Regions from separate parts of the Homo sapiens genome. Here all the other regions are linked to region 3. Evidence: promoter capture Hi-C in 16 types of primary human blood cells and fetal thymus (Javierre and others, 2016). All regions are on one chromosome and are shown on one strand. The core of a region is centred on a gene start or on the middle of the fragment in contact, and the rest is flanking DNA. Distances in the headings are between cores, read along the strand shown.

Region 1 (4,200 bases), core at 1,257-3,756, 2.0 Mb before region 3:
GTTCTGTTATGGGCTGGGTGCGGTGGCTCTCGCCTGTAATCCCAGCACTTTGGGAGGCTGAGGCAGGCAGATCACCTGAGGTCAGGAGTTCAAAACCAGCCTGGCCAACATGGTGAAACCCCATCGCTACTAAACATACAAAAAAATTAGCCGGGCGTGGTGGTGAGCACCTGTAATTCCAACCACTTGGGAGCCTGAGGCAGGAGAATTACTTGAACCGGGGAGGCAGAGGTTGTAGTGAGCTGAGATTGAACCACCGCACTCCAGCCTGGGTAACAGAGAGCTCTGTCTCAGAAATAAAAAGTATTGTTGTTATTAAAAAAAAAAAAAAAAAAAAACTACAAATACACACACACACACACACACACAAATGTGATCAGGAGTACAAAGTATCTAATAACTAATATTAAAGTGCCTTTTCAAAACTACTTACCTAGAAACATGAGAAATTAACCAGAAAAATTTTAAATCAGTTCATTTCAATGGCAAGTATCTTACAGCAACATAATAAAAATGGCTGTTTTATGAAGAATGTTTCTTTAAATGACTCTGCCCCTCTAATGCATCTCATTAAAAACTGTCAGCCAGGCGCGGTGGCTCATGCCTATAATCCCAGCACTTTGGGAGGCCTAGGCGGGTGGATCACCTGAGGTTAGGAGTTCGAGACCAGCCTGATCAATATGGTGAAACCCCATCTCTACTAAAAATACAAATATTAGCTGGGCATGGTGGCAGGCACCTGTAATCCCAGCTACCCGGGAGGCTGAGACAGGAGAACTGCTTGAACCTGGGAAGCAGAGGTTGCGGTGAGCCGAGATCACATCACTGTACTCCAGCCTGGGCAACAGAGTGAGACTCCATCTCAAAAAAAAACAAAAAAAAAAACTGTCAAAAGATACCTTCTCTTGAAATGTGGCTAATTATATCACTCTCCTGCTCAAAGTCCTCTCTCACTGCCTTGAAGATAATTTTCACATTTCTTAGCCTAGAATCTCTCTCCAAAGCTTCTGTTTCAAGCAAAACAAACCACTCCCCATTCCCTACATACATCCTTGACTTAGCATTGACTTACACTGACTGCTCTCTGCCTAAAAAATCATTCCTCCATTCAAACCTTGCCAATATTTTTTTAAAGCCAGCTAAATATCTCCTTCTTTACGAAGGTTTTCCTGATTCCCTGACTGAACTCATATAAGTGCACCTCTTAGGGGACTTAATGCTTTCTCATACTAATTCTTATTAGTTACTCTCCAACACGAGAACAAGCTACTTATAGACAGGTTCTGTGTTTACCTTTTTACTGCCCATAACTGATCACAATAGTCACTGGGTTTAAATAACTGAAACTGAAACTATTACTCCAGTAAGAGTCTCCAATCAGGTACCATGGGAGGGAAGACAGAGGTAATTGCAGTGTATCACGCATGTGAACATCTACCAGTGGTCTTTAAAAACCAATGTCACACTATTGTCATCTCTACATGCTAAAATATGTCTAATTTCACTTATATTTTCTTTTGGCCAGGATGCTTAACGCTGGTTTAAACTGCCTACAACACAGCTCCCAAGTGTAACAGCATTTGCAAATATTGATCCTATGCTCACTACTGTAGTGAATAGAAAGTCCTTTGTCTACAGAACTCTAACACAGCTATAAGCAAGAACTCTCAAAGAGCAAATCAAAGATTAAGCAAATCCAAGAGGCAATCTGAATTTTAGTTCAGAATTTTAAAATCAAGTATAAAACCTTCTCTGAATCTGAAATCACAAAATTCTGATAAAGAGAAATGAGGAAAAGTATCTGGGATGTAAAGCAAGTTTTTAAACATATGATGCTGAGAATCATCTGGTATACATCACTAAAGTATATATTTCTATTCATAAATTCTTACTGTGTAGAACAAAAAATGGGAAGAAAAAAACCTCTGGGAAGCACAAACAGCTGTGGAACTAGTTACTCTTATTGTTTTAATCTACTATGTCTAACAAGACTCGTGAATTTATTTCCAAGTCCATAGTGAACTATGTGCAAATTATGTGGTGAGAGGCTGCCTACACATGCTGAAAGCAGAGAAAAGTAAATGTTGCCAGCCTAACAGTAAAGTAAGATAGAGGGAAAAAATATGAAGAGTAAACTGAAGAGCTCAAAAAGCATAGCAGCCTGAGAGTAAAGGGGGCAAAAGTTCCTACAAAGCTGGCGGGGTCTTCATGGCTTCACCATGTTACAGCATAACACAATAGTTAATCTTCACTATGTGAAAACTTGGTTATCAAGTAAATTATGTTTCTTAGTTTGTTAAAGAAGTTGTGACAGCATTTAGAAAGGCATTATCCAAAAGCTGTGCTCTTTAGAGATAACCTTTAGTTCCTCAGAAAATTCAATTGTGTGGAATATTCCATTTCTTTTACACACAGAATGAAGATTTTACTCCTTTATACCAAATCGTTTTGTATCTTCTTGATTAAGATAACTATCAATATTTGTGATTATGAGCTTAGACTTAACAACTCATACAAACAATGGCAGCACTAAGCAACACAGCAACTCCAGCACTTCCTTACACTTCTTTAAAAGTAACAAGTTCCTAACACTGAAAGTACTTGCCTTTTTTTAGGTTCTTAAGTCTCAGGCACTAAAGTAAATTTTAAGAAAATTAATTAACTCCAGACATTCAAAAGTTAATTCTGAGTGCTAACTTTGGTTTTCTCTTCTTCTAATTTTTAATCATCTAATTCCTGGTAACACTAAAAATAAGGATATATGATTTCTCATTATCAAAATCATCCTGTCATCACTACTCCTATCAATGATGGTAATAATGTGATTGTCCTGAATTGATATAATTATCAAAGAACATCTCAGAAAACTTAGGAAGGCTCACAGAGATTAAAGTTATCACAGCTACAAAATGACAGCAGAAACAGGTCTGATTTCTAGTTAAGTATGCATCTACCATTCATCAAAGAGTTCACAATCCGAATGAAAATTTAAACAAAGCTCATTATCTTAACTTGTTATATAAAAACACTTTCACCATCTTTGATACAAAGTGATGTGAACGAGGCTTGTGGAAGCCTGCATGATGGTGGATTTGCACTCACTCGTGCATGCTTAACTGACCTCAATTGTGAGCAAATCTGAAAGACCAGCAACAACCATAGAAAAACGGTGGAACTAACCGGCTCTTAAAACACGCTGGCAGCAACACTACCCATTCCAACAGGCAAAATCCACCACAAACTACTAAGCTCAGCTTGGAATCCCAATTAGGCACTTAAAAAAAAAAAAAAAAAAGCACAAAACCTGCAGTGGGTAGGGCCTATTCATTTAGGCATCCAACAGTCTTCCAGCTTTTCAAAGACAGACACAGGATTATTCCTGGATTGGTCAAACATAACGAAGTATTCAGAATGAATATTCTCTAATAATTGCATATAACTATAAACAGAAAAATGACAGACCAGAAAAACACGATTCTAATTCTTCACAAACCTTTCCTAAAAAATTAGCCAAATAAAAGTTCGAAGGTTTTCTCTTGCCTAGAGACATCTAAAAGTGTTATTTTGGGATGTTACCTGTAAAAAAAAAAAAAAAAATTGGTTTGACCCTGAGAGATTATAATAAATTTCAAAAAATTTGAAGTGGAAGTCTACATTAAATGACTCAGGAATTTGAAGTCAGAGTACATAGGATACACAAGATTTACATCAGTATTCATCTTAATTATGATCAAGCAGCCCAAAGTTAGAATTTCAAATTTCCCCAAAAATTGATAGTTAAAATGGTTTTCTCCAAAGTGAATTCTTTTGCAAGATGAACATTTAAAAAAAAAAAAAAAAGAACAGAAAAAGTACAAACTACAGAACCTGCCTGCGTTATCTACAGATTACCTAAAGTTCCCTTAGAAACAGATAACCAGGAAAATCAATATACCATGATATTAGGTACACCTTGCATTCATATATTACAATGCATTCTTCATGTTATTATCTTCCAACTCCCTGAAGAAAGCTTCGGAGTACAGAGAACTTGGCTTTTAGCAATCCATCACCAACCCAATTCTTAGGGGAAAACAGTCCAGAAGAGACAAAGGAGGCAGAGAACCCACCAAACAAAAGGAAAAGGCGGCGAAGGTCAGGTGCGAAAGCATTTGACGGACAAGTTTTGAAAAAACTCAATTCCAATTCTACAGATGCTCA
Region 2 (4,070 bases), core at 780-3,279, 1.5 Mb after region 3:
AATCTTACCAAATCAAAAAAGCCCCAGTTTAATTTTATAAAGAATGAAGACATAAGGCAAAGGCAAATAACCACTCTAATTTAAAATTATATTTCAATTAGCACTTTGTAAAGTATCTTAACTTGCTTTGTCTGACTTGGAAATGAGACAAAAGTTTCTGAAAGAGCAGGCTCTGAAAATATTTATGAATAAGAAAATAAAAGAAAAAAGAACAATTGAAAGCCAATAGGTGCTAAAAAATAAAAAAAGAGAAACATTATAAAACACCTTTTCAAAGGTCTTCTAATGTACAATATTTAAATACAAACAGTAACTAGTGTTACACCAGCTGCTCTCAGGTTTGCAAAATATATCAAAGTACAGCATATTGGAATGAGTCCTGAGTTTCCATTTACTTTATCTATCCAGACACATCAATTCTTTTTACTCCAGCCTGATAAAGTGGAACTGCCGCAGACAAATGAGCTAGTGGAGCTGACATAATGTGTTTGTCACAAAGAAGCGCTGGATAAAAAAGCATGACTTTGATCCTCAATGAGGTTACTATTTTACAGTACCCTGAATTTAACTCTAACCTGATGCCTTGAGTCACCGTTCACTGTTTATTGGCCAAAATTGATTCTCATTTCATCTCTAACTGTTAAAGGACTGGCTCCTGCAATCCTTAGATGAGTAAAATCTCCTATCAACCAAAAATAATACTAATAATAATCATGGGAAATTAAAAGCAAAAACTTGATTGATGATCTCTGTGTGACATTATAAAAACTACCCCGAGTTGGGGACTAGAGGTAAGCAAGTAGGTTGACGATCACTTATCACAAACCCAAGGTGTAATGTTATTATTTTAAAGGAAATTTGATTTGTATTTAAGCAATAATACATACCAGATAATTTCTAGATAATTATTTATGTCTGAATTTAAATGTATCTATTGAGCAAATCAGATACATATATATTTATGTGTATGTGTCTATATGTAATTCTATTCTTTCTTTTTATAAAGACTCAAATATTTCTGAAAATAAAGCTTTTGTTTTGAGTTCTGAATAACATGAAACATTTGCCTATTATACCCCTGGGCTCCTTTATCCAAGCAAATTAATTCAATGGTTTTTATTTCATTCATCAAACAAATAAAAAATACCATAGGTAGAATCTGTCACTTGTAAACAGACATAGAAAAGAATAAAACAAGGGGTTCCTAGAGACCAATCCTCCAAGCAGATGAGTAAACATTGCCTTGAACAGTCATAATGGGGGAAAACGATTCTTTCTCTGATACCTGATACTGCAGCCTCACACATTTTTTTTCTTCTTCTATTATTATTATTATTTTTTTTAGTTTGTGGATCATTAGCCCAACAAATGAAGAAGTGAATTGTGATGAATGAAAATTAGTACTGTGAATCCAAATTACTGCATTAAACCCAGGCTGGCCATAAATTACATGTTAACACAATTCGATACAAGTAAGACAGAAAATACTGTCCCTGACAGTGATCTTTAACAATTAAAATATATTTCTTCAACTCAATATTTGGCTGCAATATACTAAAGAAGTTATGATATTCTCATATTGCAAAGTTATATTTAGATTCTACGCAGGGTTAATTATTCCTCACAAATAACGTGCTCACTCATGGTCTCTTAAGTAGATTTTTTGCGGTATATCTTTTGGATTGACTATTATTGATGCACAGCAGTGTTTACAAAATACATCTCCATCCCTTTTCATGATGATTTGAGTTACAGCCATATTTTAAGCCATCCATTAAGCTCTTTTTGTACCCTGCAAATTCATCAGTGGCCTACCTACTGGACACACCTGAGTAAGCAGTAGTAGAGCAGAGATGTAGAGGTGAATGAGATCTATTAGGTAAGCAGAGATCAGAAGGACCAGAGAAGCTATAGTACTAAAGAGAAGTCAGGTTTACTGTACAGAGGAGCCTTCACTGCTTCAAGCCAAGAAAATCTGGTAACATAGAAAATGTCCCTCTGTGCGTACTTTTACCCACAATCAATTGGTGAGATTTGGTCAGCTGATGATTTCCTAAAAGTTCCGTCTGTCCACGTCATCCATGCAGTAGCACAAGATTCATTTTGATCTAATGTCTGAAGCAAGTTCAGATAATAAGATGATGACAAGATCTGAAAGATCAGGCTGGGCGCGGCGGCTCACGCCTGTAATCCCAGCACTTTGGGAGGCCGAGGAGGGCGGATCACCTAAGGTCAGGAGTTCATGACTTTATTAGAGACAGGTGAAACCCTGTCTCTACTAAAAATACAAAAACTAGCCGGGCATGGTGGCAGGTGCCTGTAATCCCAGCTACTCAGGAGGCTGAGGCAGGATAATCGCTTGAGCCCAGGAGGCGGAGGTTGCAGTGAGCCGATATCGTGCCATTGCACTCCAGCCTGGGAGACAAGAGTGAAACTCTGTCTCAAAAACAAAAAAACAAACAAAAAAAATCTGAAAAATCACGTGAAAACTATGCCAAAGAGTTTTGGGAACTTAAAGAAATGCAGAAGTCGGTGTTTGTTGCTGTCCAAGTTCTTTGAGTGTATGTGAGCAAGAGATGCCACTATTTTCCACTGATATTACCTGTATCCAGACTGATGCTAAAGGCTGAGATAAACACAAGCATGCATCCACTGCCTCCATGCAAGTCCTACTCAGTACTAAAGATGGACGCTTGGTAAAAGCCAGATACAAAACATTGCTGCCTTCTGTTAGCCTGGAAGCACATTGACTAAAGATGTTCTGATTGCCCGTGGGGTAGAACAATGAAACAATGAAGCCAGTATGTGCAGAAGCATGTAGGAGGAAGACTTGGGGCCAATGAGGCAACAAACTGCATGCCCAACACATGCTCCAGGGCACTGTGCTAATGCCCAACTTTCCATCTGGTTGAGTGAGTTAGGTCCAGCAAATGAATTCCTTCCAGCTTCTCATGCAGTTCCATCTTTGTCCCCTATTGAGGAGCAAAAACATCCTGTTGGTAAAAGCCACTTTCAGTGGTTCAGTGGGTAAAGCTTCTCCAGGCTGGATTTGGGAGTCTGAAATTGTTGGGAAGACTGAAATGATTGTTCCTAGAAATTTAACCCAACTCTGTCATGCCGGCTATCAAGTAGAGATAATAAAACACCGTCTTAATGAAACTTCTGAGATGAATCTATATTATTTTAATTTTATAACATTTAAGATTGAGGTCAAGAGACAATATGCAATATTCCGCAAGTTACTCAGCTAAGAAGTGGAAGGGCATGTATTTGAACCTAGGTTCTCTTGTACCTACCTAGTTCATCGCTTCTGCCATATTTCCTAGCATTCAGCCAAGAGAAACTACCGGACATAATCTGTGAGGCCAAAAGAGTGTGAACAGCAGAGAGGGCTTGAAACAATGGAGAAATTCATTCATCTTTATGGTGACGCTATTGTTGAGATCAGCAGTAAGCCAAACAACAAATTTCACTTGTACAGAATGTGAAGAGGTTATTTGTTAATTTTACTCCTTCTCTCTAATGCGGAAATTATATATACACATAAAATTTAGAGACAGGGCCTCACTCTGTTGCTCAGGCTGGAGTGCAGAGGTGCATTCATAACTCATTGCAGCCTCGAACTCCTGGCCTCAAGTGATCCTCCCACCTTGGCCTCCTATAGTGCTGGGGAGATGTGAGCCACTGTGTGAGCCGAAATTACAGATGTGAGCCACCATGCCCAAAATCTTAACATTAATAGAAGAATCATCTCAAAGAAAGTGAGAAACTATGAGGGCATATCAAACTAAAAAACAAAATCTGTGTTCTTTTTAAATTTATATATTCATTGAAAAATATAATTAGGCTCAGTTGAAACTAATAGGCATAGAAAAGATAATAAGAATATGAAAATGCCTTACCTTCAGGAACTCCAAATTCAGGGAAATATTGAATGATAAATGTGACTGAACCAATTCAACAGTTTTAGAGTGAAGTCTGACATCCAGTGGCCTCCCAAAATACTACATTTTTATTGGAGAACATAGATTTTCCCTTGATTGCCATGCTTGTGTTGCCAATTCTCCACG
Region 3 (4,669 bases), core at 593-3,092:
GAGGTCCTAATAACCAAACCTATAACAGTCTATTGCTTTTGATCGAATCTTGATTTCAAGGAGCAGTTGGAGGACAACTGAGGAAGTGTGAATGTGTATTAGATGATAAAGAGGAACTTCTATTAATTGTGTTATGTTGATGACATATACTATGGTTATATAGAAAAGTATCCTGAAATTTTAGAGATGCCTATTTAAGTATTTAAAGGTGAAATATCCTGATATTGGTATTTACCTTAAAATATTTTTTAAAAAGTAAATACGGCAAAATTACTTAAAGTGTTAAGTCTGGGTGTTACAGACTGCATGTCTGCGTCCCCTCAAAGTTCATATATTGAACCCTAACCCCCAAGGGAATGGAATTAAAAGGTGGGCCTTTGGAGATGACTGGATTTAGATGAGGTCACAAGGGTAGAGCCTGCATGATGAACAGGGTGGGACCGTATCTCAAAAAAAAAAAGAGGAAGAGAAGTTTCTATTAGAGCTTGCTCTATCTGCTTTGTGAGGATAGAGGCAGTTTCGCAAACCAAGAAGAGGACCCTCACTAGAATCTGACCATGCCAGCACCTTGATCTTGAACTTCCCAGCCTCCAGAACTGTGAGAAATAAATTTCTGTCATTTAAACCACCCAGTCTACTGCACTTTATATGGCAGTCCAAGCAGACTAAGACATTAGATAATGCATATACAGGTATTCCTTAATAGAACTAAAGAGAGTAACTGTATCAATATTAGTATGAGTCCTACCTAAAATACCTCTTCCTTCACTTGCAGAAACACTGGATTAGATTATTCCAATTGCCTCAGTGTTCTTCCACCCTTACCCAATCCAGTCCAATCTCCGGAGAAAAATATGATCACATCACTAGCCTGCACAGCATTCAATCAACCACCTCTTTAATGGGGAAAAGTGTAAATTCCATAGTGTAGCCATATAAGGCTTTTCGAGATCTGCCCAGACTCCTTGAGCCACTCTATATATACTTCACTCATTTAAAACTCAGCGACAATCCTACAAGTAGGTGAAATTATTATTCCCTCTTTACAGATAAGTAAAGGGGAATATAAGTAAATAACTTGCCCAAGACCACACGGTTGGTAAGTGGCCCTGCTTGACTTTAAATTTTGACAGTCTGATATATCCATAAACCAGATAAATCCATAATTTTAACCACAATATTATTCTGTGCCCGGTACAGTGTAGGTGCTCAATAAATGCTTGCTAGATGAGTAGTGTGGAAGAGCTTAGCTCTCCTTTTTCACCTGATCCCAAAAGAGGAGTGAATCCTAACCACCCTGTTTCTCTTAAGAGTCAAGTCAAGTAAGAGCTGATGACTGTTACTGGCATTGCCCGGGCGTCTAGTATTGCAGTATCCCCGCCCCTGTGAGGGGTGCAAAACCTTTTCTGATTTCATTTCTTTGGTGGTGGGGATCGGACTGGGGAGGAATGAGGGGTCGCAGAACACAGGCTGCCCGCTGGGCCCGGGGGCTGCGGGGAGGGACGGCTCTCGTGCGCTGAGTAGTTGACTCGCCCACTGCAGACCTCAGAAGCCTCACGACCCGGACCCCGGGAGCCCCAGCCCCGCGCCCTCAGCCCCGCGTCCAGGACCTGATCCTGGATTGCCAGGGGCCCTCCTGGGAAGACGGGGCCACTCCGGGCCCACTCACCTCGTCCCGGCACTGCTTCTGGCACATCTGGCAATACCAGCGTAGCTTCTGCAGCCCCTTGGACTTGATCCTGTTGGCGATAGCCTTGGGAGTAAGAAAATCCGACTTCCCCATGGCGACCACGGCAGCGATCACTTTCTGGACCCCAGTACTCAGCCAGCCGGAAACGGAACCGGGCTGGCGGCGGTGGGCGGGACAAATCCCAGCTGAGAGGCGGAAGGAGGTGGGGCCTGGGAAGACTGGGTTGCAACGGTCGCGAGACTCCCCTCGCCGTAGCGCGAAGAAACGAGACTGAAGAAGAGAGCAAGGTGGGAGGGGCGCGCTGGGGAGCTTCGGCGCATGCGCGCTGAGGCCTGCCTGACCGACCTTCAGCAGGGCTGTGGCTACCATGTTCTCTCGCGCGGGTGTCGCTGGGCTGTCGGCCTGGACCTTGCAGCCGCAATGGTATGGCAGCTTGCGGGAAGATCGGCAGGACCGCAAGGGATGGAAGAGCTTGGGCACGGGGCAGGGAGGAGGAGATGGGCGCGGGGGCAGATGTGGGGTCGCAGGGCCTAGCTGGGCCCCTGGCCCGTCGGAGGCGCCGGGTAGCGGGGGCTGCAGGAAGCGGCTCTGAGGTCGGGCAAGGTGTGCGCAGGGCCGGGCTCCGGCGGAGCAAGGTCCCGCCCGGTTCCCTGAGGTCGGAGGGCCACCTGGGACCTCGGGACTGCGGCCTGAGTCCAAATTGACGTCTGGGCGGTCTTGAGTTCCCTCAGCTAATCAGCACTTCCTGAGCTTCCACTTCCACTGCAAGCCAGGCCCCCAGTCTCAGGGCCTGCAAGGTGACGGGAGCCTGAGCAATAGCCCAGGGGAAGGTTAAGTCGTGCTTTTTGTCCTTGACGCCCTTTGAAACCCTGTAGTGCTGGACAGAGTGACCCTTTAAGATTCGATCGAGTCAGAGAGCGCGGCCGTCGAGCACCTCCCGTGTTGCAGACGCTTTGCTGGGTGCTGCAACAGCAAAGGCGAACATCCTAGATGCCTCTGAGGGTGGTTTTGGTGCAGAAGGGACCGTACAGATCTGTCTGAGGGCGGGGAAGGGAAGGACACCTAGCACTACCTTGAAACCACTTGCTGAAACCGTAACCCTGCAAGGTCATGAAATTGCCCCCAGGTCCTGGGGGAGGAGTTCGGTGGGCTTTTAAGTGGCATTTGTTAACTGACATGCAACTAAAGGGTGCCACGAGCCTCGAGAATTTTAAACATTAGTTCCGGGTAGGGGGACCTGGGCTGGGGGAAGTGCATATTAGAAGGCCCGGGAATGGGCAGGTAAAAGTTGGTTTGTGGGTGGTGCTGTTCAGTTTTGAAGCTTGACGGAATCTGGAAGAATTCCAGACACGCTGCTAAGGGGATTCTAGGCTGTGTCGTAGCAATTCCCTGCTCTTAACAGTGTGGAGGATTTCTAAGGCGCTACAGTGCTAAACTAGATTTTCGTATCCTAATTTATATGAAGGGACCATAAAGCATTAGTTGAAATAAATAGGTTTTTCATTAAGCAAATAACTGATAGTAATATACGAGATTTTCAGAATGATATCTGATGTGAATTAGCCACATAAAATTTTTGGTGGCTTGGCCTTGGAAGTCAGATTTTTTTTTCTCTAATATGGAAAAAGAACATTCATGGGAATTAAAAGGTCACTGTAGTTGAATTCTCAGTTGTATAGATTGTCCCACTTGTTAACCACTCAGCAGACATTAGCTGAGTGCTTCCACTCCACCCGGTGGTACTTGGAAAGTGCCCAAATGTGATGGTGAGCAAATAGATAAGGTCTCAGTCAGTTTCCTGGGACAGTGCCTGGCATGCAGTGGTGCTCTGCGAACATCAGCTCTCCTGGCCTTACCTTCTTGCCACGCATTAATGTTATCTGTCAGTATTTTTACAACCTTAGTTTCTAAGTTGATCTTTAAAAAAGTGGAAATAGTTTCTGAAACAAAGACAATATTTTACAAAAAATTTTAGAAATATCTTTTTTTAAAGCACCTGTAAGATAATTTGAAGCTCTTTTAGTGAAGGATTGTTTTAAATAAGAGCTCTCAGTTCAAGACAACTACTGTTAGGAGCTTAAATCGGAACCACAATCAGCATATAAAGGTCCTAATCCTGACCTTAATCCCTTTGGAATATTGGTTTTATAAATCATCAATCAACAGTGTTCCACTATGAAAGCATATTCTGTCTTCTTCTTTTCATGTATTCCTTCACTGCTGGTGCTTAATGTCTTTCCTTCCTCTTCTGCCATTTCTCTTTCCATGAATTATAATTGCCTTTTGAATTCAGAAATTAAAACCACTCCACAGAATTAATTTGGAAGGGGAAGAAAAGACCTTTGTCTTAACGAACCATGAAGAGGCATATTTCCATGCTTCTGTCTTGATTACTGGAAGTTTTTTAAAGTACAATTTGTTATTTTAGTTTTTGTTTTCAGAGAGGCTACCATGCTAACATAAAAACATTAGGCTTACTTAAATTCACAGTGGTTATTTTAATAGTTGTTAGGGTATCGGCAAAATACTCTAACGTTTTGAAAATTAAACCTTTTTTTTAAAGCAGCATATAAGAAAATGGAAATTAAAAATTTGAGAGAAAGAATCCCGGATTTTACTGTCTTCAAATTTGGGAAAAACATTTCTATTTCTTAGAGTTCAGTAGTCTCTAAAATGGAACTGTTTTTTAATAACGTGTCAGTAGTCATAAACTACAGATACCGATAAGGAGATGGCATTTCAGGAGAGAAAAGACAAATTGTCATCTGAGACCATGAGGGCAGATATTTACTAATAAATGTAAAAAATGTGAGGCAGCAGAGTGTAGTACTGTATGAAGAGAGAGACTCTGTAGCCAGCCCTGAAGGGCTGCATTCAGACGGCAGGGATTGAATTCTGATTGCCACTTAGCAGCTCTGTGACCTTGGGCAGGTTACTCAGTGTCTGTCCCACCAGTTCCTCATCTGTCAAATATATGCA
Region 4 (4,700 bases), core at 1,274-3,773, 1.4 Mb after region 3:
CCTGTTGTCAGTTTGATGTTGAAGGGCACATTGTTTTTCTATTATGTTGCTGATTTCTGTATTTATTCCACATATATCAGAAACATTTCTCCCACCTTCTGGGTAAATTGCAATGGAGGTCTCACCCAGAACATTTAGGTTTGAATTGGTTAACAATTCAAGCAGCCCTACCTTTTCAGCACTTTTTATTTTTTAAAAAAAATAGCATTTTGTTTTTCCTTCAAACCTCACATCTTCCAAGCCCTTCAAAGAGCTGTACTGATGAATGCATGTTTCTAATAGACTTCAAGAGGGTTATCCTGGACGCCTGGTATAAGTTCAGGGGTCCCCTCCCCCTTTATTTACCTGTTATGTGTCATTAGCTCCTGCTTTTTTTTAATGTTACAAACTCTGTGTACTTTTTGTAGGCATTGGTTTTCAATGCTGCGTTGCCATTTGGTTTTCATTCATAGGAGAAGTTTAAAAGGAGAAATGAGATCTTACATGAAAGATTGTGCTCAGCACTTTTTATTTGGCAGGGGAAAATATGAGTGGAGTTATTTCACCTAAGACATAGAATTATTTTGTTACGTGAAAGACATTATTTATATTTTCTTATGTTAATACAAATATATAACGCATTCAAGGTAATCCACAAAGCTAAAATGAAAATCCAGTTATCTGAGATTTGTTTCCTTGGCATACGTACTAACCAGTCTATAGGGGGCCTTTGGCACATAAATGTTCATTTACTTTGAGCTTAGTGGCATCAGCCATTTTTAACAAACCATAAACTGCTAACAAGCTTCAACATAAAGAAGAAACATATAAAGACAATATGGATAAGATATGTAAATAGTAACACCCTGACTTACAATGACTTTTTTATTTGAAATAACTTTTATTAAGCAGAGTGAACTGAATGGATCATTTTCATGTATATTCACCCATTAAAATAATTTAAATATTTTCTTTAAAAAGAAAAAAATTGGTATTTGTTACCTTTCTGTTTTTCTGCTATATATTTTCTTAATATGTAAGCAAATGTTTTCTTTCAGAAAAGTTGGAATTCATCCAAATTACAACAACAAAAAAATATGCACACAATTAAGTATTCTTAGAAGTGCTATCCAGTGCCCACTTTCTTCTTGTTTGGAGTACATGTGTTTATATTCCACTCTTCAGGCCTTGAGCCTGCATACTGGGCTGTCTTTGTGTGGCAATATGGTTAGTTCATTTAATAAATTAATCATTTTGTTACTAATATTATTTTAAAATGCACACGTACCGTTCATATTTCTGTTCTGATCTCAATTACTGTTTGGAGTACTTGAGTTTATAAAGTGAAACACTGCTGTCATTATAGGATCAGTTTTTGAGAGTTTTGTGATGGCTTTGTCATTGGACATGCAAAAGACCCAAAGTGACAATACAAAGTAAGAAAGAATGGGAAGACTTGTTAAGAGAGAGCATGGCACTGGATCTCAGTTGTCCCTTGCTAGGAATTATTGTCATATACTCAGTGCTGACAACTATAGGTTGGAATTTTGCAGTGCAGTTGCCTTAAATTTTAACCGTGGAAATAAGCCATTTTCATACCCTTCCCATTGAAAACTGTTGTAAGGCTTGGTATCCTGAAAATCTGCATCTAGGAGATAGTCTAGTACGCTCCTGGTCACTTGGTAGTCCTCTAGGTTATCAGATTGACAGATCACAGAAAGAAGGGTGAATATAGTATAACAAGGTATTTTGAGAGAGAGAACTTTTATTCACCTAATTTTTATTAAAGTATATTGTTATATTTGTTCTATTTTATTATTAGATATTGTTGTTAATCTCTTGCTGTGCCTAATTAATAAATTAAACTTTATCGTAAGTATGTATGTATAGAAAAAACGTGGTATATATAGGGTTCAACGTTGTTTTGGGCATCCACTGGGGTCCATGAAACGTAGCCCCCGTGGATAAAGGGGGGGCTACTGCACACTTAAATATGGACTACTGTTATTCCCTCTGCAAATACTTCTTGGAAAGTTATTAAATGAAGATAATGTGGAGTCCTGTACAAAAATCAGTCAACTTAATAATACTCCAAAGACATTAGGCTTTTTAATTACTGGTAGAAAAGCTGTTGTATAAGTCTCACTTTGTATTTCAACTTGAAGCAGCTTCCTAGGATTCCATACCAAGATCTTCCCCTTTACCTGTCTATATTTTACACTGAGCTTGAAGAGATAGTTTAAGATTGGCTGTAGGAGAAAAAGCCAGAATACAATGGTGCATTTATAAGAACCTAATACCTGGGCAATGTGTTATGATGTTTAACTATTTAAAAAGAAAGACTTTATACTGGGAAATTAAGTCATAAAGATGCCACCATTCCCATCCATTGACTCCACATACCGCTACCCTCCAATGCCAAAGTCCACAGAATTTGGCCATCAAATATCTATATATAGTTTTGATGAAGTTAGGAGATTTACCTAAATTTATGTAATGTTTTATGCTTGTAAATTTGATCTAAATAGAAAAAGTAAAGTAAACCATTAAAAACCTCAATGGACAGTTGATGCAAAATATGGAAAAATAAGAATATCAATGGATGCAATCCAGTATGAAAACAGGCCTCATTAAAAGCGAAACATTCTGTCCTCCTCCTTTACAACACACTTACAAGATTTCCAAAATCGCATTTAGATGGTAGTTTTAAAAATGTATGAAACTGAATCAAAGTAAAAAATGTTTCACAGTGACAAAAATATACAAAGCAAAAGTTGCTGCTAAAACCAAAATAGATTACTTCTAGTTTTAAATATATATATTTTTGACAAAATTATGTTTTAAAAAAATCTTTTACAATCTATAAATAATAATTCTGCTAAATTTACTGAATGTGAACAGGTAATAAATAAGAATAATGGTAACTATGAATAGAAGAAAATACTTTCCCTACTGTATATACCTGACTTCAAGAAATTTATCTCTCTGCTGTCATTCTCTTAGGCCAGATGCTAGTTTGGAAAAAGGAAAATAATATCATAATATTTTTTGGCATTACACCCTAATTAAAAGGGCAGTTGGCAAAATTTTGTTGCATATATAACTTGATTTCTAGAGCTACAGTGTTTGAAAACATCATCTGGGCTAGGGATGCAGGGCAGCTAATAAGACTATCTCAAACAATATGTCACTAATCCAGAAACTGTAATTTCCTATCAAAACGAGGCATTTTCCTTATATGTAATGTGAATATTCTTCCCTAAAAGCATAGAGTGTGTAGTGTAGGAGAAGAAACTTAATTTTTGGAGGAACTCCAAAGGCTTGCTTTTTATCTGATGTTGATAAAGAATGGAAAATATCAAAGCATAACAGTGATTTAATTTTTTAAAACACCCACACTAATTCTCTTCCCATGAATTCTCAGTACTTTCAAACAAGCAACGTTTTAATACAGAAGCAATTAATTTCTGTATTCCTCGATTTGTATGACATTTACTAGAGCAAAATCCTCAGGATACCTGAGCTTTAACATGAGCAATAGACCTCAAAAATGACACAGGAAGATGCCATAAGTGCCTGTATCTTACATAGGAAATGGTGGCACCCTTATGGCTATCTTAATATGACCGACTTCCCTAATGGTATCAGACAGGCTTCAATCAGGAAACAGATTCTATCCAGTAAATTCAATAGAGAATGTGTAAAATACAATTTTTTTAACTGTAACAGAGGATTGGAATCATAGCTTGGGATACCAAGAAGTATAGGTAATTCTAAAGAATATAGAATAGCAGATTCTATTCCAAACGCTGAGAGAACACACCCAAGGTAAGAAAAAATCTGGAAAAGGACCCTGCCCCTCCAGGGCTGAGATCCAGACCTCACTGGAGAGGGCATGGCAGTGGCCCTGGGGATGCGGAGTTGCTGAGGTGCCATGCCAGCAGTAGTCACTGAGAAACTGCCCTCTTGAGTGTCAGAGGGACGTCACTAATGGAGAGATGCCCACACAAGTCCCACTTGGAATTTGTTACCGGAAATGGCACATTGGGAAACCTCCCTCTTGGTGTCAGGGAATGTCCTGCACCACCAGCTGCCACACACTGCAGGAGCCTACTGAGAGCGAGCACAGGCTGGCCCAGGATGATGAACCCATTCCTCTGCTAGGTTCCCGCCACACCACCAGCTGCCACACACTGCAGGAGCCTACTGAGAGTGAGCACAGGCTGGACCCAAGAGGAAGAACCCATTCCTCTCCTAGGTTCCCACGAGTGCCTTCTGCCAACGAAGCTTAATGGCATGCCAACTGTCCAAGGAGAAAGGATGAGAAGCCACAAGCAGGACAATACAGGTTTCCTTGGAGCCAAGAGGCAATAGATTGGTAACTGCCATACTCCCCTCACCTAATGTTTTAAAAATGCCATCAGTTAATTTTGTTCTGAATCTCTGAGGTGGTACCACCACATTACAAAAGCAAATTGCACTGTGCATTCATTCTAAATGCCAGGATTATTTGTGGTTGTTTGTTGTATTCATTATGAATACAGGTTCAGTTCCCCTTATTCAAAATGCTTGGGACCAGAAGAGTTTCAGATTTTGAAATGTTTGGATTTTGGAATATCTGCAATATATTTACCAGTTGAGCTCTCAGATCTGAAAATCCGAAATCCAAAATGCTCCAGTGTGAGCATTTCTCTGGAGTATCATGTCCATGCTCAAGAGGT
Region 5 (4,281 bases), core at 1,002-3,501, 1.9 Mb before region 3:
TTCCCTGTTTTTTAAACATAATTGGGACACACGGGTTCACAGTAGGTTGGAATATATATATATATTTTGAGACAGAGTCTCGCTCTGTTGCTCCGGGTGGAGTGCAGTGGCACGATCTCGGCTCACTGCAACCTCCCCCTCCCGGGTTCAAGCAATTCTCCTGCCTCAGCCTCCCGAGTAGCTGGGATTACAGGCGTGTGCCACCATGCTCGGCTAATTTTTTTGTATTTTTAGTAGAGACGGGGTTTCACCATGTTGGCCAGGCTGGTCTTTAAACTCCTGGCCTCAAGTAATTCACCCAGCTCGGCCTCCCAAATGCTGGGATTACAGGCGTGAGCCACCGTGCCTAGCCAGGTTGGAATATTTGAACCCAGGATAATTGGTTACTTCATTGGTGTTGCACATTCGATTCTGCCTCTTGTGTCTTCTCTATGAACCTTCTTTGCTCTGTATCCCCCTTTGGATAACTAAATGATAATGTATGTGAATCTGTCCCGCAGCTCCTGTGATTTTCTGGGCAAAAGCTTGGTCTAGAGGGGCGGGATCTGAACAGTAAGCTAATGGATGGAGCTGTTTCCTGGGTCTTGCTGTTTTCCGGTTGGGCTGCTCATTTCTTTCGTGCAGACTTTTGGAGGTTGTGGTCTGGCCTTTACAGTCACGTCACATGTAGTCGTCATTGGCACCGACTTGCTCCTTGGCTGCCCTTCCTTTTCCTCCTGTTTTTCATGGGTATGCTGTTGAGCATGCCCATTGGTACACTGATCATTTGACAGGTTTCGTGATTTGTGAGTGTGTGTAGACACCACTATTGGTATTAGATTTAGAATTCTAATTTTGGGTTTGTTGACATCATCTTTTTGCTGCTTATCTCATTCCTCTATCCCTCCTAGGCTGATTTTATTTGGAAACTGAATTTGGATTCCATCTTTGCCTTTCTGGCTGTGAAATTACCTACTTTTAGAAAGCATCTCAAATCTTATATCTGTAACTGTCATTCACATGCCTTTTGAAGACCAGTCTCAGATTTCAGAGGACCTCCTGGAGCATAAACATGGTATTCCACAGATAACTTAAAGCCAGAAATTATTTTTAAAACTAGGACTTTCAGCCTCCCTCTCACTCCGGGGGAAAAAGTGATTAAAACACAAACACTGTTTCTCTTTTATTCCTTAACATGGTTAATGACATTAACATCTCTTTGAATGTTCTACTAGAAATGCCAGTTATCCTTGTTGCTCTTTATCTTTTATCTTTCTGTCTTGTCAAACAAAGCCATGTTCTTATGCACCTGCAGGGTCTGCTACTCTCAGGCCTTTGCCAATTCTCACATAGGTTGATATGGTGGCTTTCTGAGTTGTTTTCCTGACAATCTCCATGTCTCTCCACCTTCTATCCTCTCTCCCGAGTCACTGTCCTAAAGTGTAAATTTGATTGTGTAATGACCCTGCTTTAAAAATTGGATGAGGCCGGGCGCGGTGGCTGACGCCTGTAATCCTACCACTTTGGGAGGCCGAGGCAGGTGTATTGCCTGAGCTCAGGAGTTCTAGACCAGCCTGGGCAACACGGTGAAATCCTATCTCTACTAAAATACAAAAAATTAGCTGGCTGTGGCGGTGTGCACCTGTAGTCCCAGCTACTCGGAAGACTGAGGCAGGAGAATCACTTGAACCTGGGAGGCGGAGGTTGCAATGAGCCGAGACTGTGCCATTGTACCCCAGCCTGGACCACAGACAGAGTGAGACTCTGTCTGAAAACAAAAAACAAACAAACAAACAAAATTGGATGATACCTTGAAGCCCCTACCTGATAAAGTCCAATTTCTTTTTTTGAAGCCCAATTTCTTTATCATTATGTGTAAGGACCTTTGTAGTCTGTGGCTCCAAATTCCTTTTCCAGCCTTATCTCCTGTCATTCCTCATCAGGGAACCTCTTGTTTTGATGAAGCCCAGCTTTCCTGCCACTCTAGTGCATTGTTAATGCCTCTGTATTTTTGCACACATTGTTTCCTTCCGCCTTACTGAATCCCATGATTCTTTCAAGACTCAACTCTTCGTGAAGCCTTTTTCAACTTGCCTAACTCTATTTATGTTTCTTTACTATCATAACACTTCATGCATGCATTTATGTAGTTGTTATATTACTTTATCTTTAGTAACTTGTGTTTGTTTTGGTAGCTGCCTTATGGGTAGGCTTATTCACTTTTGTATCACTAATGTCTAAAATAGCATTTAACACCAAGGATACCATAAGACAAAGCTCTCATGGAGTTTAAAATGAATCTGGGACATAGCAGATACGTAAAAGTAGTTGTGGAATGAATTGACTGTAGAAAAAGCCTTTCAAATATATAAAATTATATTCTAGACCATAAGTAGTGATCTTTCTCTTGTTTTTCAAACATTCCTTTCTTTCTTTAGGAAAAACATAGAACGGAAAGCCCAGCCCATCCTTGTTGGCTGTCATACACGAGTGCTGTCTCCAAGGGAGTCACAGGTGTCTCAGATGTGAGAGGATCCCGGGGAGATTGAGCTTACTGCCTGGGAACTTTTGGATTTCTGGAGAAGCAGGCTGTGGTAGCCTGGCTCTGCGTCAGTGAATACCTGGGAAAGGAGCTGGAGCTCTATTTTGCTTGCTTTCTGCATTCGTTTCTTTTAGAGCTAATGGGGACACAATATTTTGAAGTTTTTCCATTTCGGGTCTACAGCATTTAGTGGTATTTTCCTTATAGTTATGTTTTCCAAATACTTCTCAATTTCTTTGGTTCTGACATTTCACAATGATTTTAAAAAAATGTAATATGGAAATTAAACTTGAGGTTTTCAGAAGCTGCTTTCAAGGTGTCTAGATACAGAGTGAAGAATGTCACAGTAGGAAGTGCACTGGACTAGGGGAGTCAGGAGACCCGGGTTCTTGTGTTGGCACCATCACTCATGAGCTACGAGGTGACTTCAGGCAAGTCCTCTCTGAGCCCCAGCTTAATCATGGCACAATTGTAGGATTGCTTTGAGGGTCAGACGAGAATATAGGAAAGAACTGCAAAAGCTGTAAAGCACTTAGGAGCTCTGGGAGAGTTGAGAGCTTCAAAGCCAAGGAAGACAGCCCACACTTCAGAAGAAGTGCTGCAGCTGCACATTTGTTCGTTTAATCAGGAATTGTTTATGAAGCAATGTGTGTTACATGCTGGGTGTGAGTACCTCTCTACTCCTTCCCACTAGAGCAGAGAGCTTTTAGTCTGGGATGGAAGACGTATTAAATACAGACTTATACAAATAATTGTTATTAATATAATATGTAATACAGTGCAATTAAAAACAATAATTCATATAAGACACATGTTAAATGCACACTTACACAAAGAATTGTTACAAGTATCTCGGGTGTACAGGGCGGTTTTATTCCTGCGAAGTGCTTCCTGGCTTGAGTGAATACTTTTATGGTGCTGGAGTTGAGAGATAACACAGTTAACTGTTGAAATTGGGCCATTCCCGTTTCACAGGCTGCCATTGGACCTGTCAAGTGCCTGAGTCATGTGATAATGGGCTACATTGCGCAGGGCCCCTGGGCCATCTCCACAGGAGATGCCAGAGGACGAGTGCCCACTTGCTGGTCTTCACAGAGCACGCTGAAAGTAAGAGGCATGTGGGAAACTGACCAGGGCGGTTAGCTGACTCCAAAATTGTCCAGATTAGCAAAACTGCCCTCTGTGGATCTTTGTTAAAGTTGGGTATGGTATTGTAGCAGTTTCTCCAGTCAGGTACCTTGTACTAGCGAGTCAACTTGATTTTTTTTTGAAAAAGCAATTATTTAATAATAATATTTACTTCCAGGAATTCTAGGTACTTATTGTCTTCATCTTGTCCATTTAGGTCTGTAACCTAAAAGTTTTAAAGGACTTTTTGGTATGAATTCTGATTAGTAAAGGTAGAGGAAGAAAGGAAATTATTTGGTATCCATTTCAAATGATCCTGAATGGTTAGGGTAAGCTTTGCTGCAGTGACAAATAGATCCAGACATGTAATGGCCTCACAATAGACGTTTATTTTTCAATCCCATAACAATCTAAGGAGGCTACAGGTCATGGTGGTGGTTGGAGTTTGTGTGTGTAGGTGTGGGGAGGGAGGGTTCTTTTTAAAGCAGTAGTCCGAGGATTGAGGCTGCTGGAGGCTCTTCTATTTTGAACACCCGGCTTCTAAGGATGTCCTGGGAATCAGCTTCCCAGTTAAGGGGAAGAGGAGAAGAGTGGAGGGCAGGTCTGGAAGAGGCGTGTGCTGCTGCTGTTCC
Region 6 (4,239 bases), core at 856-3,355, 1.5 Mb after region 3:
GGAGGAGAATGGATGGGAATATGTTACAGAGCTAGCCACCTCTTTGTAATAAGCCAACTGCTTGAAGTTGCAGGACATCTTCAGAAACACCATCTAAAACTACTCCTGTGAATCTCCTGTCTGGGGTGAAGGGAGGAAGGGGAGGTTTATCTCCAAGGTTTTACTTCTCATTGCTCAAATTTTGCACTGTAAGATTTTAACTTCCCTGTATGTGTGGGTTACACAGGCATGGTTACCCGGTGGGTGTCAAAGTAAGAGGAGAGTGACACATGGCATGGGTGAGGCAAACGCTGTTGAGTCTGCCTGTGAATGGCAATATGGGTCCTTGGCAGCCTTGGTCTACTGCAGGTATAGTCATTGACCTGCTCCCATGACCATGAGAACCACATAAACTTTTGAAGATAACATTAACCAGAGTCATAGCAAGTGTGTAGATCTGGGGTGACACATAAAATGAATCCCATAAGATATCTACAGCTACCTTGTTTTTGTTTTTGATATTAATGACCTCTGTGTTTTAGCTATGTATTTGTCTTATTTGTCTTCCCCAACACTCTAGAAAGAAGTCATGAACTTCAGCAATTTTACCTCCTCTGGTACCCCCAACATCTAGAACAGGCGTGCTACTCAGTAGGAATTGAATAAAACTGCACCAAGCAAAGGAATAGTAATTTTTAAATTGCTGAAGAAAAGATTTTTTCAACATAGATTGGGGAACTACCTAAACTATTATTCAAGAAAAGGGTCATGGCAAAAACATTTTAAACAAAAAATAAAATTTTCTGATCAACAGGACTTCATGAAAGGAACTTCAAAAGAATATTTGGCAAGGCAGAAAATAATCCCAGAACAAGAGTCTGATATGTTAGTTGGAATGATTAAAAAAAAAAAGATAATAGTAAATAGTTAAGTAAACTATAATAAATATTGATTATGCATTAATAATGTTTTCTAATTTGAAGTGAATAAATATGGACGAATTAACACAAAGTAGAACCTAAATTTTTTTAAATAATATATAACTTAGAAGGAAGCAACTGGCTTTACAAAGGTTTAATCTCCTGAAGTTTTCTGAAAAATTATAGAGATAATGAGTAATATTACATTTAATACAAATGTACATGCTACAACTTAAGGGAAATTCAAATATAAAAGATGTAGCATGTATAACTTCAAAACAGTGGAGAGAATAAATGGACTAAAAAAATCCAATCCATGAGAAAGTAAAGAGAAGAAAAAATAGGAAGCTTGAGAAAACAGGAAAAATAGAAAAAAAGAAGATGGTAGGATAAATATATAAGTAATTTTAACACCTGGAAACAGCATAAACTAGCTAATTATAGTAATCAATATTTAAGTTGGATTTAAAAATTAAAATACGATAGAATATTATTTAGCAACAAAAAGGAATGAAATAATGACACCTGTTATGACAAAGATGAACCACAAAAAACGTGTTAAATGAGAGAAGTTGGCTACAAAACCCCGCAGAATATTGTATGATTTCTTTTTTTTTAATTATTTTTGAGAAGGAGTCTCACTCTGTCACCCAGGCTGGAGTGTAGTGGCGCGATCTTGGCTCACTGCAACCTCTGCCTCCCGGGGTCAAGCGATTGTCCTGCCTCAGCCTCCCAAGTAGCTGGGATTACAAACGCCCACCACCACGCCCAGCTAATTTTTGTATTTTTAGTAGAGATGGGGTTTCACCATATGGGCCAGGTCTTGAAGTCCTGACCTCAGGTAATTCGTCCCCCTTGGCCTCCCAAAGTGTTGGGATTAAGGCGTGAGCCACCACACCCAGCCTGTATGATTTCATTTATATGAAGTGTCCGGAATAGGGAAATCTATAAAGAAAGACAGTGGATTTGCTGTTACCAGGAGCTTGAGAAGGGTGGTGGCAATGAGGAATGGCCGCTGACAACTAGGCCTCTTTGTGGGATGAAAAAAATGTTCTAAAATTATATTATCGAGTTGGTTGCAAAACTCCTAATATATATAAAAAATCATTAAACTGTACACTTTAAATAAGCAAACTCTATGTTGTGTAAATTACATATCAATAAAAGATATTAAAATTTCAACTAAATGCTATTTTTAAGACCCTGCCAAGCCAAAGAAATACACTAAGTAAAAGAATGCATTCTTCAAAATAGACTTTGTATCAAAAATAATTATTAGGGCTACAAAGTGTCACTAAATTTGAAATAAAGATCAGTTCTCCAGGACCAAATAACTATTCTAAATATATGCACCTCTTAAGAGACCCTCCAAATAACTATACTTAAAATTGACAGAAATTCAAGGAAGAATTGACAAAATCACCAACAAGTGGGAAATTTTAACAAAACATCTTATTAATAGAAAGATATAATGACAATAATTGGTTATCATATATGAGATTTTAAACAACAAAGTTATGAAGCTGAAACAAAGAGCAGAAGCAATGAATATATACATACACACATACATGCACATATACTATATATATCATATATAGACACACATATATAATATATGTGCACATACATGTGTATATTCATCATATATATAATACACATAGGATGTGTGTGTGTGTGTGTGAGATACATACCACAAGTGATGATAGGGAAAAATTAGGAGTCCTCTAAGGTACTGTACTATACATGAAGCAGTATAGTGGTATTTGAGTGGATTCAGATAAGCTGAAAACTAGTTATCTATATCTGTAATAATTTATAACTATATCTATAGTTAATCTATCTACTGATTAAAATACACACATACATTAACTTACTCAGTGAGCTTAGGGGGCCTAAAGGCAATGACACCCTGTAGCAATATGCATATCAGTCAGCAAGATCTTGGTTTCTAATAATAATAAAAGTGGATTTTGGTTATATTGCTACAACACTATATGGTTACTAAAAATCACTGATTGTACATTTATAATGATCAAAGTTTATGGCATGTACATTTTACTCAATAAAGCTTTTTTTTTAAATGAGGTATTCTGTTTAATAGTGCACTAAATATTTATGGCCTGGCTAAGATTGGATTTTTAATTAAGAAGGGTGAACATCAGCATAAAACAGTAACAAATTACATCAAAAGCTTAGTCTAAGGGAGTTAGTAAATATACAGTTTAAGATCAACTTTAATGGAGAATTTGGAACCCAGAAGAAATGCAGAAATTCAGGGTAATAAATGGAGGAAAACATCACAGCTGACAAAATTCGTGAGCACGTTATGTGTTTAAACATAAATAATCTGTGTATAAGTAGATTTAATACGTGTAAAAAAACATACTAAGTAAAATAATGCATTCTTCAAAATAGGCTTTGAATCAAAAAGAATTGTTATGTAAATAACATAAACCAGCTAACTACAAGTAACAATGATGTTGCTAGGTGATGTCTTGCATGTGGGGACAGATGAAAGTGGGGGTCTGGAGTCAGAAACACCACTCAACTTGATGGAAGGATGACCCTCAGGGGACACGATTGTGCGCACCATCAATGCTCAGAGTAGACCTGCGCCCATGAGAGTACATCAAAAACACTTTCCCGACCAGAATGTGGGATGGATGGATAATAGCCCAGAACCAGATGGCAAGTCAGGGCTACAGTTCTGAAAGTAGAATATTGGAAACTTGGATACATTGTGGAATCCAAGGCAAAGACTAAGAACAGAAGCATTCTGGGGAGAGGCTATGTGTGTGTCACGGAGAGGAAGTGGAATATGTATTTCAGAATGTGTGACAATGCCCTTGTGTGAAAGTTAGTATAATAGATGAGTTATCTGAAATCTACACTATGATGGTTCTATTGTCCTATTCTTTCTTCAATAAAAAGAGAGAGACTTTTCGCATTAAGAACAAAGCTTTATACAGAAGACATATTTTTCTTCCCATAATCATTGACTTCTTGTTTTACATGACATATTCAGACAGTAGTCAGCTGAAACACTTTTTTTCTATTAGGAAGAATATAATCTCTTCTTGAATATAATCAAGAGAACAAAAATAGTATTACTGGAGTGTTTGGGTATACCTTGTTCACTGCATTCCAACAGAGACATCTGTCAAGTCAGAGAGAAATCCTATTAAGAAATAAGAAGACAGTTGGCTTGTTATAGGATAGCAGTTATATGTGCTTATTAAGCAGCATTCCCCAAAGGTAATAATCTGACAGTTCCTTAATATCACAAAATTTCCCGTACATTTCCTCATTTCTCTATATTTCTCAGAAAATAGAGCAACTA

What was found. Contacts are between HindIII fragments. The CHiCAGO score rates a contact against its expected background, and 5 or more counts as called.
Region 1: a contact is called between a fragment that was not itself captured here and the fragment with the promoter of KIN in region 3, in 1 of 17 cell types (monocytes). The highest score is 8.5, in monocytes.
Region 2: a fragment that was not itself captured here is called in contact with the fragment with the promoter of KIN in region 3 in 14 of 17 cell types (M2 macrophages, M0 macrophages, total CD4 T cells and 11 more); the score reaches 16.8 in M2 macrophages.
Region 4: a fragment that was not itself captured here is called in contact with the fragment with the promoter of KIN in region 3 in 5 of 17 cell types (endothelial precursors, total CD8 T cells, fetal thymus and 2 more); the score reaches 10.4 in endothelial precursors.
Region 5: a fragment that was not itself captured here is called in contact with the fragment with the promoter of KIN in region 3 in 1 of 17 cell types (neutrophils); the score reaches 8.8 in neutrophils.
Region 6: a contact is called between a fragment that was not itself captured here and the fragment with the promoter of KIN in region 3, in 1 of 17 cell types (M2 macrophages). The highest score is 5.3, in M2 macrophages.

What each region holds. Positions count from the first base shown.
Region 1 is chr10:5,808,381-5,812,580 of GRCh38, forward strand. All of the region lies in intron 1 of GDI2 (GDP dissociation inhibitor 2), which reads right to left. It overlaps LOC124902367 (a long non-coding RNA gene), which reads right to left. Exons shown (of 2, transcript XR_007062041.1): 1 at 3,935-4,200; 2 at 1-3,576. Among named protein-coding and RNA genes, the nearest start is that of GDI2, 3.0 kb to the right of the region's middle. The HindIII fragment of the contact is 3,008 bases long and covers 1,003-4,010 here.
Region 2 is chr10:9,297,354-9,301,423 of GRCh38, forward strand. No RefSeq gene overlaps it. Among named protein-coding and RNA genes, the nearest start is that of LINC00709, 24 kb to the left of the region's middle. The HindIII fragment of the contact is 2,003 bases long and covers 1,029-3,031 here.
Region 3 is chr10:7,786,151-7,790,819 of GRCh38, forward strand. It overlaps KIN (Kin17 DNA and RNA binding protein), which reads right to left and starts at 1,843. Exons shown (of 13, transcript NM_012311.4): 1 at 1,670-1,843. The coding sequence starts at 1,783. ATP5F1C (ATP synthase F1 subunit gamma) reads left to right here and starts at 2,027. Exons shown (of 10, transcript NM_001001973.3): 1 at 2,027-2,113. The coding sequence starts at 2,058. RefSeq lists enhancers at 1,796-2,115, 2,568-3,111. The HindIII fragment of the contact is 3,793 bases long and covers 1-3,009 here.
Region 4 is chr10:9,209,917-9,214,616 of GRCh38, forward strand. All of the region lies in intron 4 of LOC101928272 (a long non-coding RNA gene), which reads right to left. Among named protein-coding and RNA genes, the nearest start is that of LINC00709, 63 kb to the right of the region's middle. The HindIII fragment of the contact is 3,482 bases long and covers 783-4,264 here.
Region 5 is chr10:5,891,560-5,895,840 of GRCh38, forward strand. The region is part of intron 1 of FBH1 (F-box DNA helicase 1); the gene reads left to right. Among named protein-coding and RNA genes, the nearest start is that of FBH1, 3.5 kb to the left of the region's middle. The HindIII fragment of the contact is 3,459 bases long and covers 523-3,981 here.
Region 6 is chr10:9,316,587-9,320,825 of GRCh38, forward strand. No RefSeq gene overlaps it. Among named protein-coding and RNA genes, the nearest start is that of LINC00709, 43 kb to the left of the region's middle. The HindIII fragment of the contact is 1,720 bases long and covers 1,246-2,965 here.